2 separate regions of the Homo sapiens genome follow, and region 1 is linked to region 2. Evidence: promoter capture Hi-C in 16 types of primary human blood cells and fetal thymus (Javierre and others, 2016). All regions are on one chromosome and are shown on one strand. Each heading gives the region's core, a stretch centred on a gene start or on the middle of the fragment in contact. The rest is flanking DNA. Distances are from core to core; before and after follow the strand shown. Region 1 overlaps LOC124902678 (a long non-coding RNA gene). Region 2 holds the start of ZP1 (zona pellucida glycoprotein 1).

Region 1 (2,825 bases), core at 175-2,674, 320 kb after region 2:
GACTCAATGAATTTAACATATAAAACATTTAGAACATGCCTGTCACCTCGTAGCATGAGCTATTTCTATTTTATTTTATTTATTTATTTATTTTGAAGCGGAGTCTCGCTCTGTCGCCCAGGCTGGAGTGCAGTGGCTCGATCTTGGCTCACTGCAAGCTCCGCCTCCCGGGTTCACGCCATTCTCCTGCCTCAGCCTCCCGAGTAGCTGGGACTACAGGCGGCCACCACCACGCCCGGCTAATTTTTTATATTTTTTAGTAGAGACAGGGTTTCACCGTGTTAGCCAGGATGGTCTCCATCTCCTGACCTCGTGATTCGCCCGCCTCAGCCTCCCGAAGTGCTGGGATTACAGGCGTGAGCCACTGCGCCCAGCCGAGCTATTTCTATTTTAAACACCAGACAAAGACCAAAAGGTTAACAGTTAGCCAAAGGATTTAACACTCATTCTATCCAAAAGGCAACTGTATGGACAATTTTTTTCTCTCCTTATACTTTTCTGAGTTTCTTCCGTGATTGCTTTTAAGATGGTGGGAAAGCTAAGCATTATTCTATAAAAGAGAGGGAAAGACCCCCAATAGAGAGGAGGCTATATCTTTGCTGGGGTTGCCTGGGTTCCTGCTGGAGTGAATTATTCCCCAGAGAAAAAAGGCCATCAGGAAGCCTACTGTCAGTGGAGGACTGACGCCTAGTGGCCAAGGCGGATATTACATGCATACATGTGGTGGTCTTAGACCCGCCCATTGGTTCCATCTACTTAAACAGTTACTTAGCGACATGAAACCACTGTAATATGAACTCTCCTACCTTTAGACCTGCGAATCCCATTTTGAGAAATACATCTCACATAAGTAAATATATGTTTATTATTATTAGTTATAAAATATATATTAGCTACAAAGATTTTCCCAGGGACTCTATTACCAGTGAAAGATGGAAGGCACCCCAGATTCTAAGAGCAGGGAAATTATCAATAGGAAAGAATCTGCTCCTGGCTCTTTTTCTTTTGTTTATTTATTTTTTTTGAGACAGGGCCTTGCTGTGTCGCCTAGGCCGGAGTGCAGTCCGCGATCTCGGCTCACTGCAACCTCTGGCTCCCGTGTTCAGGAGATTCTTCTGCCTCAGCCTCCTAAGTAGTTGGGACTACAGGCACGCACCACCATGCCTGGCTAATTTTTGTTTTTTTGTTTTGTTTTGTTTTTTTGAGACGGAGTCTTGCACTGTCGCCTGGGCTGGAGTGCAGTGGCGTGATCTCCATCTCAGCTCATTGCAACCTCTGCCTCCCAGGTTTAAGCGACTCTCCTGCCTCAGCCTCCCAAGTAGCTGGGATTACAGGCACCCACCACCATGCCCAGCTAATTTTTTGTATTTTTAATAGAGATGGGGTTTCACTATGTTGGCCAGGTTGGTCTCAAACTCCTGACCTCGTGATAAGCCTGCCTTGGCCTCCCAAAGTGCTGGGATTACAGGTGTGAGCCACCATTCCCGGCCTGCTCCTTGCTCTTAAAGTGATGAGCGTGGACTACATCTGCCCATCTGTCTAAAGAAAAGCACAGACCATTTTTACAAATACACAATTTTGATATATTGCAAAAATGTTTGTGCAGAACAGAATGCAATGAAAAATTAGCTGCCTGAGTTTTTATTACAAAGGTTATATGAACTATAGAATACAGTTTTACAATAAATATATTTCCTAAAGAAAGTCTACAATTAATATTATCTTCTAAATAAATATTATGACTTTTAAATGTTTCCAATGGTTAGACACATATATTTGGCTATTTAAAAATATTTCCCAGGTAGACAATGTTTTACTTTAAGGCCTGTTCATTTACTTTTTAAAGTTTTTAAATTTGTTTCTTGTTGAGACAGGGTCTCACTTGTTGCCCAGGCTGCAGTGCAGTTGCACGGTTCACTGCAGCCACAACCTCCTGGACTCAAGCCACCCTTCCACCTCAGCCTCCCAAGAACCTGGAACTACAGGCACACACCACCATGCCCCATTAATTTTTAAATTTTTTGTAGAGATGGGGGTCTCGCTATGTGTCCCAAGTTGGTCTAGAACTCCTGGGCTTAAGCAATCCTCCCACCTTGGCCTCTCAAAGTGCTGGGATTACAGGAGTGAGCCACTGCACCCAGCAAGATCTAATAATAAGAACGTAGCCGGGCACAGTGGCTCACGCCTGTAATCCCAGCACTTTGGGATGCCAAGGCAGGTGGATTGCCTGAGGTTAGGAGTTCGAGACCAGCCTGGCCAACATGGCAAAACCCCGTCTCTACTAATAATACAAAAATTAGCTGGGTATGGTGGCGGAAGCCTGTAATCCCAGCTACTCCAGAGGCTGAGGCAGGAGAATTGCTTGAACCCGGGAGGTGGGGGTTGCAGTGAGCTGAGATCGCACCATTGTACTCCAGCCTAGGCGACAAGAGCGAAACTCTGTCTCAAAAAAAAAAAGTATGTAGATACGTAATGGATAAACAATGGAAAGGATAAAATGCAAACCAAAAAAATAAAGTTGACTTGCCTATAAAAAGAAAGAAAAGAAAAGCACAGCTCAAATCATGAGTAACAAGCACTCTCCCTCCCTCACCTCCTTCCAGTCTCCACTCACACGCCCCCTCCAGGGTGGGGCCCTCTGTGGTCCCTCTGTCTAAAATGTCAACCGTCCTGACACTCCCCATCTTCTTCCTTACTGTAGTTTCTTTCTGGCTTCACAGAATCACACGCTATAATTTGCTTATTTATCTTGTTGGTTATCTGTCTCCTTCCCTGGTGTGTAAACTCATGAGGGCAAAGATTTGGGTCTGTCCTGTTTCTTGATG
Region 2 (2,700 bases), core at 154-2,653:
GAGCCACCGTGCTCAGCATGTACCAGATTTTCTTTATTGAGTCTACCATTGATGGGCATTTGATTCCATGTCTTGGCTATTGTGAATCATGCTGCACTGAACATATGCACGCAGGTTCAGTGTCTTTATGATAGAACAATTTATATTCCTTTGGATATATACCCAGTAATGCGATTTCTGCATCAAATGATAGTTCTGTTTTCAGCTCTTTGAGGAATCACCACACTCCCACAGTGGTCAAACCAATTTACACCCCCACCAAGAGCGTATAAGCATTCCTTTTTCTCTGCAACCTCACCAGAACCGGGCTCTTAGCTATCAAGCCTCTTGCTCTCCCCTTCCAGCAGCTGCTAATTATAATAGCTGCATTTTCTAATGTTTGCTGAGCTCAAACGCTGCTGGGCCCTAGGCTAATCACTTGCAGGAATTAGTGCCAGGACGTGGGGCTGGTGACAGTCCCTTCCTCAGAGGATGGTCAGGCGGTATAAGGATCTAACACAAGCAAGACCTGGCACTGTAATCATGGCAGACCACAGGCCATTCTTGTTGTTTCCAGCCACTTTTATGTCTTAGAACTGTTCTAGATTTACAGAACTGAGAAGATAGTACAGACAGTTCCCATACACCGCAGGCCCAGTTTACCCCATAACTGATCTTACTTGAGTATGATACATTTATTACAATTAATGAACAAACAAATGTGGACACATTATTATTAACTAAAATCCACTTTCTTCACTTTTACTGCCTTTTTCTGTTCCACGATCCCATCCAGATGCCACATTACATTTAGTTGTCCTTGTTATTTTTTATTAGTCATAGTCATCATCATACTGACCGGCTGAATCCTCAGGAGAGCCCTTGGAGGTGCTACTGGTCTGTTTACTCACCTGCAGTCCCCATTCCGCTGCCAGCTCTGAGGGCTGTGTCTTCCTGGTCTTGCTCTAATGCCCCTAAAGCCCTGCCTGAGGAGCTGTGACTGTACTAACCAGGCCGGCAGCTCCCAGTGGTCCTGAGGCCTCAAGGCAGGAAGGAGGACCTGGAGAGCCTGTTGGGGCAGGAAGGGAATGCAGAAAGGCTGGGGTGAGAGGGAGACAGTGGAGGGCCTGAGGTCTGCAGTGCCACCTCCTAGCCCTGGATCCCTTCCCACAGCCCATCTGCAACCTCAGTTTTCTGGAAAGCTCCCTCCTCCCTTCCAAAGCCACAGCTGTGAGACAGAAAGCCAGGGTGAGGGGCCACGTGCAGCTTTCTGCCTCCCGCTGCCTTTGGAACAGGAGTTTCACCACAGCCCCTGGTGGCCAGGTGGGTGCTCCTCCAGGTGGGCCCCCTTTGCCCTTACAGGCACCCACTTGCCACCTCCTCCATAAAAGGCCTGGGCCCAGCTCTGGTGGCGAGGGAGTAGGGGGTGTGTCTGTGGCGTCTCATGGCAGGAGGCTCAGCCACGACCTGGGGTTACCCTGTGGCCCTGCTACTGCTGGTTGCCACCCTGGGGCTGGGTAGGTGGCTCCAGCCCGACCCTGGCCTCCCAGGCCTCCGGCACAGCTACGACTGTGGGATCAAGGGAATGCAGCTGCTGGTGTTCCCCAGGCCAGGCCAGACTCTCCGCTTCAAGGTGGTGGGTGAGTGCTGGCAGAGTCCTGGCCCCTGCCTCCCTGGCCACGGGCTGCTGCCAGAAGGGAGCTGGGACCCTTCCCCTGAAGGAGCAAGAACAGAGGCCTCCCTCCAGCCTGGGGGTGTCCAGCCCCCCACCCCCTCACCACAGAAAAGGGCAAGGAGGAGAATCATCACCCAGGGCAGCTTCTCCCACGTTAGTGTGCATGGGAAACACCTGGCCACCTTGTTGAGGTGCAGGTTCTGATTCAGTGGACCTGGGGCAGGGCCAAGCCTCTGCATTTCTTTTCTTTTTTTTTTTTTTTTCTGAGACAGTCTCACTTCTTTCAATCTGTTCTCCAGGCTTGAGTGCAGTTGGCACGATCTCAGCTCACTGCAACCTCCACCACCCAGGTTCAAGCAATTCTCCTGCCTCAGCCTCTTAGTAGCTGGGACTACAGGTGTGTGCCACCACGCCCAGCTACTTTTTGTATTTTTAGTAGAGATGGAGTTTCACGATATTGGTCAGGCTGGTCTCGAACTCCTGACCTCAGGTGATCCACCTGCCTCAGCCTCCCAAAGTGCTGGGGTTATAGGCGTGAGCCACTGCACCCAGCCTAGGCTCTGCATCTCTAACCACGCTCAGTCAAAACTGAGGCTGAGGGTCCATAAACCACTTCCAGCAGCAGGACCTAGTAGGCGTGGCCTGGTGTGGGTTTAGAACTGGGGTTTGGATCTGCAGCTTCTAAACGGGATGATTTTGGACAACTGACCTGACTCATAAGCCTCTGTTTCCTCATCTGCAAGGTGGGGAAGATGAACCTGGCCGTGCTCATGGAACAAGGGCATGGGGACATGCCCACACCCAGGGAATGCCCAGGCTGTTCTGGGGCAACAAGCAGGGTGGACACCTAGGGGGTGTCTCCAAGCAACTGCAGCAGCCACAGTTAACCTGGGAAATGGGTTCAGATCTTTCTACAAAGCCCAGGATTCAAATCCTCATTCTGCCCCTCATTGTGTGCACCTAAGAAAGCTCACGCACCCTCCCTTCCTCAGCTGCCTCAGCCACAGGATGTGGATAACTAAGCTTAAAAGAAGTGATGTGAAATA

The links. Contacts are between HindIII fragments. The CHiCAGO score rates a contact against its expected background, and 5 or more counts as called.
Region 1: a contact is called between a fragment that was not itself captured here and the fragment with the promoter of ZP1 in region 2, in 7 of 17 cell types (total CD8 T cells, total CD4 T cells, non-activated CD4 T cells and 4 more). The highest score is 8.7, in total CD8 T cells.

Annotation. Positions count from the first base shown.
Region 1 is chr11:61,187,042-61,189,866 of GRCh38, forward strand. All of the region lies in intron 2 of LOC124902678 (a long non-coding RNA gene), which reads left to right. Among named protein-coding and RNA genes, the nearest start is that of PGA3, 15 kb to the right of the region's middle. The HindIII fragment of the contact is 6,697 bases long and covers 1-2,825 here.
Region 2 is chr11:60,866,139-60,868,838 of GRCh38, forward strand. ZP1 (zona pellucida glycoprotein 1) reads left to right here and starts at 1,404. Exons shown (of 12, transcript NM_207341.4): 1 at 1,404-1,619. The coding sequence starts at 1,424. The HindIII fragment of the contact is 3,593 bases long and covers 1-2,675 here.